Linked DNA regions of Homo sapiens: all the other regions are linked to region 2. The links are contacts of gene promoters, found by promoter capture Hi-C in human tissues and cell types (Jung and others, 2019). All regions are on one chromosome and are shown on one strand. The core of a region is centred on a gene start or on the middle of the fragment in contact, and the rest is flanking DNA. Distances in the headings are between cores, read along the strand shown.

The links. The method cuts DNA at HindIII sites, captures the fragments that hold promoters and counts their contacts. A contact is called where the count stands out against the background at its distance.
Region 1: a contact is called between a fragment that was not itself captured here and the fragment with the promoter of RBFA in region 2, in 1 of the 25 tissues and cell types used here (lymphoblastoid cells).
Region 3: a fragment that was not itself captured here is called in contact with the fragment with the promoter of RBFA in region 2 in 1 of the 25 tissues and cell types used here (dorsolateral prefrontal cortex).
Region 4: a fragment that was not itself captured here is called in contact with the fragment with the promoter of RBFA in region 2 in 2 of the 25 tissues and cell types used here (heart left ventricle and lymphoblastoid cells).

Annotation. Positions count from the first base shown.
Region 1 is chr18:79,466,326-79,469,566 of GRCh38, forward strand. It overlaps NFATC1 (nuclear factor of activated T cells 1), which reads left to right. Exons shown (of 10, transcript NM_001278669.2): 8 at 1,125-1,257. It overlaps LOC107985162 (a long non-coding RNA gene), which reads right to left. Exons shown (of 2, transcript XR_001753518.2): 2 at 2,994-3,241. Among named protein-coding and RNA genes, the nearest start is that of NFATC1, 72 kb to the left of the region's middle. The HindIII fragment of the contact is 4,601 bases long and covers 1-3,241 here.
Region 2 is chr18:80,032,445-80,035,780 of GRCh38, forward strand. RBFA (ribosome binding factor A) reads left to right here and starts at 1,990. Exons shown (of 7, transcript NM_024805.3): 1 at 1,990-2,209. The coding sequence starts at 2,052. It also overlaps a transcript of TXNL4A not described here. RefSeq lists silencers at 1,276-1,445, 1,477-1,633, 1,516-1,835, 1,846-1,925, 2,036-2,185. The HindIII fragment of the contact is 12,317 bases long and covers 1-3,336 here.
Region 3 is chr18:79,411,040-79,414,081 of GRCh38, forward strand. It overlaps NFATC1 (nuclear factor of activated T cells 1), which reads left to right. Exons shown (of 10, transcript NM_001278669.2): 2 at 1-462. Among named protein-coding and RNA genes, the nearest start is that of NFATC1, 17 kb to the left of the region's middle. RefSeq lists an enhancer at 126-641. The HindIII fragment of the contact is 4,795 bases long and covers 1-3,042 here.
Region 4 is chr18:79,363,529-79,366,724 of GRCh38, forward strand. All of the region lies in intron 26 of ATP9B (ATPase phospholipid transporting 9B (putative)), which reads left to right. Among named protein-coding and RNA genes, the nearest start is that of NFATC1, 31 kb to the right of the region's middle. The HindIII fragment of the contact is 8,130 bases long and covers 1-3,196 here.

The DNA of each region.
Region 1 (3,241 bases), core at 609-3,108, 570 kb before region 2:
GTCATATGATTATAAAAATGAAACTTTATAGATGCGACTCCCGCCAACCCTCTCCCCAGATACCAAGTGCCGCCCTCGGCAGGGATGCCTGCATCACCCCAGTCATTTAGGGTCATCAGGGGCCCGAGTAACGCTGGGGCCTGAGCACGCGGTTGGGGTCTCCGTGTCCCAGCCCCCCACCCAGCCCCGACCTCTGCGAACAGCGCCACACGTCCCATGGCTTGTGTTTCATGTGTATACTTGAAGGAGCATGAGTTTCGTAAACATGCTGCTGGCTGTTACATTAAAAACATGAGAAGGTAACGGCAGCCTCCACACGCCGCCCTCTGCTGTCTGTGCCTCCGTGCCCTTGGCTGTTCCCACCCCGGGGTCTGCGGGGGTCAGGGCCTGCCTCCTCTTCCTCAGTTGGAGTGAATTTGGGGTCTGACTGAGGGCCTCGGCCATCGTCAAATGTGACAAACACAGGCCCTCCCCAGAGACCGCGTCTCCAGGAAGCACCTGCTCCTCTGGGTTTCGCTGCAGTCACCTGAGCAGGTGCTGGGCCACCGAGCACTTCCATCACACAGTGGCTGGCGGCGGAGCCTTGGGTCGTTTTCTGAAGGTCACCAACCCTTTGGCATCAGAGCAGGCAGAGCCTTTTGCATCCCCGCCAGTCCCCTTGCCCAGGTGGCCCCGGGCAACCTCCACCCTCAGGCACCCGGTCCCAGTTCTGTTTACAGCTTCTCTTTTCCTGGCTTCTTTCCCCATATTGACAAGATTTCAGTCTTAGGTTGGTCTTGTCTGCTGTGCTGCTCTGAGGAAGCCTCTCGGCTCCTGGGTGTGCAAGAAGCCAAGGGCAGCCCCTTCCCTGTGAGCGTGCGTGTCCACACGCGTGTGCAGGTGGCACAGAGCATCCAGGGCTGTCATCAGCTGCTTCTGGACCGCCCAGGTGGCTGCTTGGGAGTTTACCGTCACGGCAGTCCTGTGCTGCCGTGGAAACGCGGGGTTGCCGTGTGGCCGCCGTGGAAACGCGGGGTTGCCGTGTGGCCGCCGTGGAAACGCGGGGTTGCCGTGTGGCCGCCGTGGCGCGGCAGCCATCGCCTGCCCGGTGCTGATTGTGCCTCCTGTGTGCCCTTCTCCTGTAGAATTCTCTGGTGGTTGAGATCCCGCCATTTCGGAATCAGAGGATAACCAGCCCCGTTCACGTCAGTTTCTACGTCTGCAACGGGAAGAGAAAGCGAAGCCAGTACCAGCGTTTCACCTACCTTCCCGCCAACGGTAACGCCATCTTTCTAACCGTAAGCCGTGAACATGAGCGCGTGGGGTGCTTTTTCTAAAGACGCAGAAACGACGTCGCCGTAAAGCAGCGTGGCGTGTTGCACATTTAACTGTGTGATGTCCCGTTAGTGAGACCGAGCCATCGATGCCCTGAAAAGGAAAGGAAAAGGGAAGCTTCGGATGCATTTTCCTTGATCCCTGTTGGGGGTGGGGGGCGGGGGTTGCATACTCAGATAGTCACGGTTATTTTGCTTCTTGCGAATGTATAACAGCCAAGGGGAAAACATGGCTCTTCTGCTCCAAAAAACTGAGGGGGTCCTGGTGTGCATTTGCACCCTAAAGCTGCTTACGGTGAAAAGGCAAATAGGTATAGCTATTTTGCAGGCACCTTTAGGAATAAACTTTGCTTTTAAGCCTGTAGTCCTGATGTGGTCTTTAAGGATGGTGAATGAGCTTTGTGCTGGGCGGACGTCCCCGAGACACTTCTCCAGGGGTAACTTCATCTCCTGGGACCACGGGCATCCAGGCTGGGGCACCTTCTCCTCAACCTGCCTGCCCCTCACCCGCCGTGGGAATGGCTCCTTTTCACTCATACAAAAAAAAAAAAAAATCATCTTACCTTTTTAACCTTTAGGGTGTTTTCTTAAAGAAAATACCATCCAGTTTGTTTCTTCAGTCCCTGAACCAGTAGAAGAGAAAGGCGTCCCCCACGCCATCCCCGGCTTCCTTTGTGGGTACAGGCCACTCCCCCCAGCTCGGAGAGGACAGAATTAGCAGTCATCCTGAATTTTACTGTATTTTGTGGGTACAGGCCACTCCCCACAGCTCGGAGGGGACAGTTAGCGGTCATCCTGAATTTTACTGTATTTTGGGTAAGCTTAGCTAACATCAATAATCTTTTTATATTGCTTTTTTTCTAAAAACTGCAGAGATTCCTGTCATCTGAGAGGGAAATTACACACTGGGCGCTAATTGCAAAAGCAGCTGCGTTCTCTTAGTAAAATCAGGGTGTTTTGGAAGGTTTCCATTTTCTCTGAATGTAAACAGCATTTGTAATAGACCAGATCCTAAGGAAGCCCTTGAATCCCCACGTTCACACCAAACTGTTGGGACTCCTTGTTTTTATCAGGCAAGCTCTGGAAAGGCCTCTCAAGATGTGGAAAATGGGGTTTTGCTGTAAAGTCGCTGTACCCTAAGAGTGTCTGTGAGACAGAGCTGCAGGGGTGATGTGCAGCCCCCAGCCCAGCCCTCGCGGGGAAGAGCCTCACGCTCTGTGACCCCCAGGATTGTGGGGAGGGCCTCATGCTCTGGGACCCCCGGGATTGTGGGGAAGAGCCTCATGCTCTGGGACCCCCGGGATTGTGGGGAAGGGCCTCACGCTCTGGGACCCCCAGGATTGTGGGGAAGAGCCTCACGCTCTGGGACCCCCGGGATTGTGGGGAAGAGCCTCACGCTCTGGGACCCCCGGGATTGTGGGGAAGGGCCTCACGCTCTGGACCCCCCTGGGGTTTACGTGGTCTGTGCCGCCCACACTTAGTGAGTCCAGCCCATTCTTGGAACAAAGTACAATATATCTTACAGAAGAAAATATTTTATCTTTTTCTGAAAATATAATGATTGAGTCCTAATTAAACTTCAAGCATGGTTGACCAGAAATTGAATGTTTTAAAGAAAACCTAGGCCTTATAGAGAAGGATTGCTTTCCAGAGCAGTGCATTAATTTTTTTCTTATTTGCTCAGCATGCGGCAGTCCCCACCGTGGGTTTGAGCAGCACTGACTTTAGCACAGATCACGTATCTCAGAGGCAGAAGGGGCGTGCGGGGAGCGTGCCTGCCCTTCACAGGTGGGAGGTGGCGGCCCCCAGGACCGTGGCCACAGCATGAAGCCGGTGGGGCTGAGCCGCTCCTGCTACCTCCAGTCCACACCCCACCTGGCAGCCGGCCGTCCTGTCCTACCAGCCACACTCCTGCCTCGATTGGCCCC
Region 2 (3,336 bases), core at 740-3,239:
GTCTCCCCCTTTTGGTTCCTAAATAAGATGGCTACAAGATGAAAGGCTACACGCCTCCCCCATATTTTGCCCACAAGGAGATTCCTGGTGAGCTGTTGAAATTTCACCATGGTGGCCAGGCGCGGTGGCTCACGCCTGTAATCCCAGCACTTTGGAAGGCCGAGTTGGGCGGATCACTTGAGGTCAGGAGTTTGAGACCAGCTTGGCCAACATGGGGAAACACCGTCTCTATTAAAAATACAAAAAGTAGCTGGGTGTGGTGGCACACAGCTGTAATCCCAGCTACACGAGAGGCTGAGGCGGGAGAATTGTTTGAACCTGGAAGGTGGAGGTTGCAGTGAGCCGGGATCACGCCAGTGCCCTCCAGCCTGGGCGGCAGAGAGAGATTCCATTTCAAAAAAATAAAACTTAACCATGGCAATGCAAATTGATAGCTTATCTTTACAGGTGCAGTCACCCTAGCCCATCTGATTGTTCCCCTACCACATTTTGTCTGCGTTATCTTATGTAAAATGCAGATTCCCCACGTTTTTCCTCTGCCCGTTTGTTTGTGAAAACTCTGCTTCTCAATACTCCGCCCTTTCCCCTTTAAATCTGGGGCCCTCAAAATCATTTTTGGAGAAAGGCGTAGACCTGTCTCCTGGGTGCGTCCTTAACTTTGGCAAATAAATCTCCTAAAATGATTAGAGACTTGTCTCGTCGTTTTCTTCGATTGACAATATATACACACATACATACGCATACACACACACATATATACGCGCACGCACATGCACACATATACATGTCCACACACATGCACACACACGTACATATGCACACATACACATGTACACATCCACACGCGCCCACACACACACACACACACAGACGTGTCTCACACCACAGCAGCCGCCTCGGGGGAGTCACAGCCCACGCATCCCCAACACTGCGGTCGCGCTCACTTCTCTTTCCACGCCCGGGGGGAGCAGCTTCCCCGCTGGGCCACGCTGACTCTGGGGAGGCGGGCGGGGCGAGACCACTTCTGGGGAGGACGCCCAATCTGGGGACTTTCTCTAGGTGCCCGGGGAGAAGGCGGCGCAGCAGCAAAGCCCTGGAGGGCCCAGTGGCGGAAACAGACGGACCCCTCGCAGCCTCCCGCCGACAGCGGCCCTGCCCAGGTCTCCAGGCTTCGATGCCTTCGTTGCTTTGTGCGGCGCACCCGCCTACGTCAGTTCCCAGTATTTAAACAAAACGTGTTCCTAGCTACGCAGCGCCAGGCAACCAGGCGGTTCCCACGCTTCCCCGAGTGGCACACCCTCCGCGCAGCCCACGCGGCCTCCCCACGCCCAGCTCCCGCCGGCCCCGCCTCGCGTCGTCCTTCGCCCCGCCCCCGTTGCCGCCCCCCCCGCCCGCACACTGCCCACCTGGCGTTGTCTTCACCCCGCTTACACGCCGCTCGCTTCGCTCTGGTAGTCGCCCACCTCGCGCTGCCCTTCTCGCTTCAGTCTTCGCCCTGCCCACCCACCGCCCACCTCGCGCCAGTCTTCGCCCCGCCCATTCACCGCCCGCCTCGCGTCAGTCTTCGCCCCGCCCAACCACCGCCCGCTTCGCGTCGGTCTTCACCCCGCCCACTCGCCGTTCGCCTCGCGCCTTCGCCCCTCCGCCGTTGTCGCCCCGCCCCTTCTTGCGTCCAGTCTTTGCCCCGTCCCTCGCCGTCGCCCCGTCCACACGCCGTCAGCTTCGCGTCTGTCCTCGCCCCGCCCACCTACCGCCCCCCTCGGGCCTTCGCCCCTCCGCCGTCGTTGCCCCGCCCGCCTTGCACCCCGTCTTCGTCCCGCCCCGCGCCGTGGCCCCGCCCACACGCCGTCAGCTTCGCGTCTGTCCTCGCCCCGCCCTGCATCATCGCCCCGCCCTGCATCATCGCCCCGCCCACACGCCGCCTGCCAGGCGTGAGTCTTCCTCCCGCTCTGCGCCGTCGCCCCGCCCACACGCCGCCACCCTCGCGTCAGTTGTCGCTCCGCGCCTGCGCCCGTTGTCTCCCTGCTCGCTCCGGGTCCCGGCGCCGCGCCATGTGGGCTGCGGCGGGCGGGCTGTGGCGCTCCCGCGCGGGTCTCCGGGCCCTGTTCCGTAGCCGCGATGCTGCGCTATTTCCAGGCTGCGAGCGGGGACTTCACTGCTCTGCTGTCTCCTGCAAGAACTGGCTCAAGAAATTTGCCTCGAAAACCAAGTAATGCGGCGGGGGCGGTGTCCCTGGGCGCGGTATTCCCTAGGGGGCGGTGTCCCCGGGTTGCGGTGTCCGCTCATCCGCGTTCTTGCGCCCATGCGGCCTAGCTCGCCAGTTCCTGCCTCCTGGGGTCTGCAGCAGTTCTAGCTCTCACTGTCAGCATTTGCAGCTTTTGTGTTCGTGGACGTGTGTCGGGTTAAGAAAACAAAGTGACAATGTGTGTTTATTTTGATTCTTGTCACCAGACGTATTTTTCAGAAGATTAGTTTCAGAAAATGAGGAAAAATGAAAAAATATAAGAATTTCCTTGCTAATGTTGACTTTCTGTGTGAATTTGAAGACTAAAGCTTGTCATGATAATTAGTGTTTTTAAATTATGAAAGATAAGTACAATAAAATACATTGACTTTTCACACTGCTTTTAGTTCTTCTAAGTATGGTAGGTGGTTGTATGTTTTCTACTTTAATACACTACTTTTAAAGACAGTTTTAGACCCTGCAGAAAAATTGCAAAAATAGTACCGCGTTCCTGTGTCCTGGCACCCAGCTCCCCCTGTGTTAGCGTCGGACTTTAGCTTCCAACGTGTTCCAGTTAATGAGCCGATATTGATAAGAGTGTTGCTAACTGAAGCTCATACTTTATTCACTTTTCCTTGGTTCTGCCTGCTGTCCCTTCCTGTCCCAGGTGCCCACCCAAGGTCCACGTTACATTGAATTGTCTTGTTTCCTTAGGCTGGGGTAGTGTCCCAGACTGTCCCTGGTTTTGATGGCTGTGCCAGTTTTGAGGGGTACTGGTCAGGTGCTTTGCAGGATGCCTCTCTGTTGGAATGTGCCTGTTTTTTTAATGCTTAGACGTGGATTATGGCTTTTGGGGAGGAAGACTACAGAGGTAAAGGCCATTCTCATCGCACCGTATCCAGGGTCCACGCTGGCCGTGATCCCCTGCATGAGGTGCTTGCCAGGTTTCTCTACCGTAAAGTTACTCTTTTTGCCCCCTTTCCTTACTGTACTCTGGGAGAAAGTCGCTGTGTGCAGCCCATGCCTAATGAGTGGGGAATTTTGCTCATAAGTGGTTTGCATTCTGCACAAGGGATATGTCTCTTCACCCCATGTATTAATTCATTCATATC
Region 3 (3,042 bases), core at 327-2,826, 620 kb before region 2:
CTCCTCCAGACCCGCGTCCCCTTGCAACAAGAGGAAGTACAGCCTCAACGGCCGGCAGCCGCCCTACTCACCCCACCACTCGCCCACGCCGTCCCCGCACGGCTCCCCGCGGGTCAGCGTGACCGACGACTCGTGGTTGGGCAACACCACCCAGTACACCAGCTCGGCCATCGTGGCCGCCATCAACGCGCTGACCACCGACAGCAGCCTGGACCTGGGAGATGGCGTCCCTGTCAAGTCCCGCAAGACCACCCTGGAGCAGCCGCCCTCAGTGGCGCTCAAGGTGGAGCCCGTCGGGGAGGACCTGGGCAGCCCCCCGCCCCCGGCCGACTTCGCGCCCGAAGACTACTCCTCTTTCCAGCACATCAGGAAGGGCGGCTTCTGCGACCAGTACCTGGCGGTGCCGCAGCACCCCTACCAGTGGGCGAAGCCCAAGCCCCTGTCCCCTACGTCCTACATGAGGTGAGCCGGCAGCGCGGGGCGGGACGGGGAGGCGAGGGGAGGCGCGGGGCGGGGCGGAACGCGGGGAGCGGGACGGGGGGCGGCGCGGGGCGGCCGTGTCTGGGGACGAGAGTCAGGACCTGGGTGGGCAGGTGGGCTCCTCGTGGAGCTGGGAGGCAGAGTCTGTCCCCATGTCTGCCTCCTCATGCAGACTTTTCCTTGTGCGCCTCGCCTCTGCCTCCGTCTGCGCGTTTCCCATCTGAAGTCTCCAGATCCTCTCGGGCCCTGCTGATGGCCTCGTGTTCGCTCAGTCTCTGCAAACACCCATTTCAAAGAGGGTGGCCCTGCTGGCGGTCAGGGCTTCCACGTGGGAATTCCGGGAGACGCCATCCGCCCCTAAGGAGGGCTCACACACGCGCAGTTTCTTCCTCGGGGAATTGCACGTGCCTGGCCCCCCTCGGTGGTTGCCTGCTGCTCCCGCTTCCTCCCCTGCAGTAATTGCCTTCCCTGCCTCGGGTGCAGATGGGACCGCAGCTCAACAGTGCCCCAGAGCACCCAGTCCGCCACGCTTTGGAACAGCACGGCCTCCTGCTCCCCAGAGACGCCGGCTGTGGCATCAGGCTGGGGGAGCTCACGCGCCTTCCTTCTTTGGGTCCCAGGTTGTTGGTTTTTCTTTTTAACCGTGTGAGGGGCTGCTGGAATTCCGCTGGGTCCACTTAACCAGCTTGGTGTTTTTATCTCTAACGAAACAGCTTTCCCAGCTGGTGGGCTGTGAGTGGCCCCTGAGAGTGCTTTCTGCTCTGGGATTTTTATCTGAGGCATGAAAACGTCCGTGCAGGAGGTCGAGGGCAGTGCCCCATGGCCCGTGACGTCAGGGCTGCCGCTGTGTCCTCAGGAAGAGGCGTTTGCCACGCGCAGCCCGGGGTATTCCAGGCTGGGTGTTTTCCTGTTTTTGTTTTTTTTTTTTTTTCGTCCCTCCCCACCCCCCACTCCTTTTTTATTAGCGAGCACTCAGGGGGCGAGACCCCGCAGAGCGGAGGGCAGGTGCAGCCCCCATGCCTGCAGGGTGAGGAAGGCAGGCAGTGAGGGTGCTCTGGGAGGACCCGTCTCTGCTCTGCAGTCTCAGGCCATGCTTCAGCCATGGCTGGAGCACGCATGGACAGAATTAGAGCTACAAGCAGTAACAAGCCTCCAGGCTGGGAACGAACCCACCCAAACCTCTCTGAAGGCTTGTGGCAAAGAAACAGTGTTAGAGCTGACAGTTCTTTGAGCAGCCCCATGGCTGATTCTGCCTTTCTACTGGCGTGATACTTAGAATCGTCGTCAGCTGAGGTTTCGAGAGAAAGCAAGGATTACCCCTGATTTTTCTTGACTTGCAGTGGGCGCATTTACCTTTCTATCCCAACTTCTGTTTTTAATACATTAAGGTTTAAAAGGCTGGCGTATTCTAGGTGATCACAACGAGCCTGTGTCAGGACCCGGATTGTATTTACAATAAAAATCCCATTCAGTTGGAGGCATTGGGAAAATTTAAGAACTGTTTTTGCCTGCTGTACTATCACTGTTATTGTTTAAGTAAAAGTACAAGCGTAGTGGCACTGACTCTCCAGCCCACAGTCATGTACAACGCGCTTCATGGTCTCCAGGCTTACGGACGGTGACAAAGTCGTCCATCACCGCGGAACTTCACTGAACTGGCGAGATAAGGGAAGAGTGATGTCATCAAGGTCCCAAGACTGGGACTTGGCATGAGGAGTGTCGTAATGCAGTTGTGAACCTTTGGGTGAACCCCACGTATTTGTTTCCTGGGGCTGCCCTGACAAGGTCCCGCAGACGGGTGGCCTTCATAGCAGGAAGGTTTTCTCGCGGGGTCCTGAGACTGGAAGCCGAGATCAGGGGCTGTTCTTTTGGAGGCTGTGAGGGAGCATCTGCCTGACCTGTCTCCCTGGCTTGGAGGCGCCGTCTTCTCCCCATGACTCCTCATCTCTCCATCCACCGTGCATGTCTGTGTCCAGATGTCCCCTTTTGTGAGGACACTGGTCCTGCTGGGTTGGGGCCACCCTGGTGGCCTCATTTGAACTTGATCGCTCTGTAAAGACCCTCTCTCCAGACACAGCCCCACGCTGGGCAGGACTCCATTATGTGAGTTTGCGGGGAGCACCGTTCGGCTGCCTCAGCCCCGGTCTTACTGTCGCAGTAAAAATGGCAGGCAGCCTTTGAAAGCGCAAGCTCGTCCTGGTTCCTTCTTCGTCTCCTGGGCGGCAAGGTGTCCGCAGGGATGTCGTGTTCTGGCAGGCACAGCCCCTCCTGTCCACCTTGGACCTGTGTTTGGTGTGGAGGTTGGAAAGCATGGGTGGCTGTTTATTTTTTCCTCTGCTTGGGGGTTTCAGGAAGAATTCCGTGCCCACGTGACCCTGTTAGCTTTATCTCCTGGCTGCAGAGCGCCCAGTTAGGTGTGATGCCTGTAACATTTCTGAGTGTTCACACAAACAAAGCTCAGTAAATATGTCCCAAACTCGCTCCTGGGGTTTGCAGTTAACCTTTTCCCACTGTTCTGGTTCCACATCAAAATATGTTTCCTGGTTCCTTGTGCCCTGTTTC
Region 4 (3,196 bases), core at 589-3,088, 670 kb before region 2:
TAAACTGATGTTCCTGGATTGAGAGGCGTAAACCCATATTCCTGGATTGAGAGGCGTAAGCAGATGTTCATGGTTTGAGAGACGTAAACTGATGTTCCTGGATTGAGAGACATAAACAGATGTTCCTGGATTCGGAGGCATAAACAGATGTTCATGGATTGAGAGGCATAAACCCATATTCCTGGATTGAGAGGCGTAAGCAGATGTTCATGGTTTGAGAGACGTAAACAGATATTCCTGGATTGGGAGGCGTAAACAGATGATCCTGGAATGAGAGGCGTAAACAGATGTTCCTGGGTTGGGAGGCGTAAACAGATGTTCCTGGATTGAGCCTCAATTAGATGTTCATGGATTGAGAGCCTCAGTATTGCTTCACATTGACAAGCTCACTCTAGAATTTATATGGCAAGGCAAGGGAACTCGAATTGCCAAAATAATTTAGAAAATAACAGAGTTGGGCCGGGCGCGGTGGCTCACGCCTGTAATCCCAGCACTTTGGGAGGCCGAGACGGGCGGATCACGAGGTCAGGAGATCGAGACCATCCTGGCTAACACGGTGAAACACCGTCTCTACTAAAAATACAAAAATTAGCTGTGCATGGTGGCGCGCACCTGTAGTCCCAGCTACACGGGAGGCTGAGGCAGGAGAATGGCGTGAACCCGGGAGGCGGAGCTTGCAGTGAGTCGAGATCGCGCCACTGCACTCCAGCCTGGGCGACAGAGCGAAACTCCGTCTCAAAAAAAAAAAAAAAGAAAAGAAAAAAAAGAAAATAACAGAGTTGGAAAACACACTACCTGATTCCAAGACTTACTGTAAAACAGTAATCAGTTAGACAATGTGTTATTGTCAAAAGGATAGACAAAAAGATCGGTGGAACAGAAAAGAGAGCCCAGAAATACATCACATGTGTCAGATGATCTTTGGCAAACATGAGAGGAAATCAGAAGGAGAAGAGTTGTGTCTGCAGCTGTTGGGACAATTCGCCGCCCATGAGCAACAGACCCACAACCTCCACCTCACACTTCATGTGAAAATCCACCCAAAGTGGACCCTTGACCTATATGTAAAGCTATAAACCTTTCAGAAGAAAATACACACAAAATATGCATGACCTTGGGTTAAGCAAAGAGTTTTTAATCATGAGATCAAAATCATGATCCTTAAAGGAAAAAAATAATAAATTAGACTTTACCATAATTTAAAAGTTTTGGCCAGGTGCAGTGGCTTATCATGCCTGTAATACCATCACTTTGGGAGGCTGAAGCAGGAGGATAACTTGAGCCCAGAAGCTCAATACCAGTCTGGGCAATATAGTGAGACCGTGTCTCTACAAAACATAGAAAAAAATGAGCTGAGCATGGTGGTTGCTGTGTGCCTGTAGTCCCAGCTGCTCAGGGGGCTAAGGTGGAAGGATTGCTTGAGCTGAGGAGTTGGAGGCTGCAGTGAGCTGTGATTGAGCCACTGCACTCCAGCCTGGGTGACAGAGCGAGACCTTGTCTCAAAAAAAAAAAGTTTTTCTCTCTGAATGATACTGTTAATGAAAAAACAAGCCACAGCCTAGAAGGAAATATTTGCATGTCACACTTTTGATAAAGGAGTTGTTTCTATAGTATATAAGAAACCCCCAAAATTCAACAAGAGAACAACCCAGTTTTTAAAGTAGACAGAAGATATTAACAGACACCACCCCAGAGATAATCCACAGATGGCAAGGAAGCCTGTGAAGATGCTCAGTGCCATTTTCATCAGGGAACTGCAAGTTGAAGCCACCGTGAGATGCCGTGTACCCACCCGTGCTAGAACAGCCGAAATACCAGCAACGTGAAAGGCTGGGGAGGGTCCAGAGCAGCAGAGACTCCCCTTCACTGCTAGGGTGAAGGGAGAATGATACAGCCTCTTCGGAAGACAGTTTGGGCATTTCTTACAAAGGTAAACATGTATTTACCCCATGACCCAGTAGTCCTGTTCCTAGGTATTTCTCCAAGAGAAATGAAAACTTAGATTCATACTAAATCCTATATATGAATGTTCACAGCAGCACTGTCATAACTGCCAGAAGCTGGAAACAACCTTGTGCCCTTCAGCCAGTGGGCAGAAGGATGTCTCCGTGGACAGGGACAGCCCATGCGTGGATGGAAGGACATCTCCGTGGACGGGGACAGCTCCCGCGTGATGGAAGGACATCTCTGTGGACGGGGACAGCCCATGCGTGATGGAAGGACATCTCCGTGGACAGGGACAGTCCATGCGTGGATGGAGGACAACTCCGTGGACGGGGACAGCCCGTGTGTGATGGAAGGACATCTCCGTGGACGGGGACAGCTTGTGCGTGGATGGAAGGACATCTCCGTGGACGGGGACAGCCTGTGTGTGATGGAAGGACATCTCCGTGGACAGGGACAGCCTGTGTGTGATGGAAGGACATCCTAGTGGACATGGCCAGCCTGTGTGTCATGCCACCAGGCAGTGGGATTGTGCTTAGCAGTGAGGGGTTACTGCTGACTCACATGACATGATGGATCATACATTGTGCATTTTGCTGTGCAGCAGAAGCCAGACTTGAAAGCTGGTATTGATTCTTTTTACCGGACACCTGGGAGGTGCAGAACTGTAGGGAAGAGACCCGTCCGTGGTCGCTAAAGGTTTGAGTGTAGAGGGTGACCGGAGAGGCATCCCGAGGGGGTGTGGGTGTGGAAGCTGCTCTGTCTGGCGCGGTGGTGGCGGACACCTGACCGTGCCTCTCTCAGAGCCCGCTGGACGGCACCAGCATGGAGCTAAGGGAGGAGGAATGCAGACAGCGGCCCATGAACCGCAGAACCACACTGTGGGCTGGGAAGAAAGGAGCTCTTTTCAGTGGCCTTGGGAAAGGCGTTTGACTGTGGTTCACTGTAAGGCTGAAGACAAAAAGAACTGCAAACCGTGGGCTGCGTTTGGCATTTGCTTCTTACAGGAATCAATAAGCCCATGCATGGTAGCTAATGAGAAGCAGATTTCTCCCTGTTAGCGATGAAGTTAGAAATGAAGGGCTGGATTGAAGCCCAGATCAGTTTGGGCTTGTGGTTTCTGTGAGATAAATAAATAGATGAAGAAATAAACACGGACATGTGTGAGCATGACTTAGTAAACACACACAGTCCTAGGCCATACACCGAGTGGCTAGAATCAGGAACCAGGCGGTAGTGAGCAAGCTCAGTG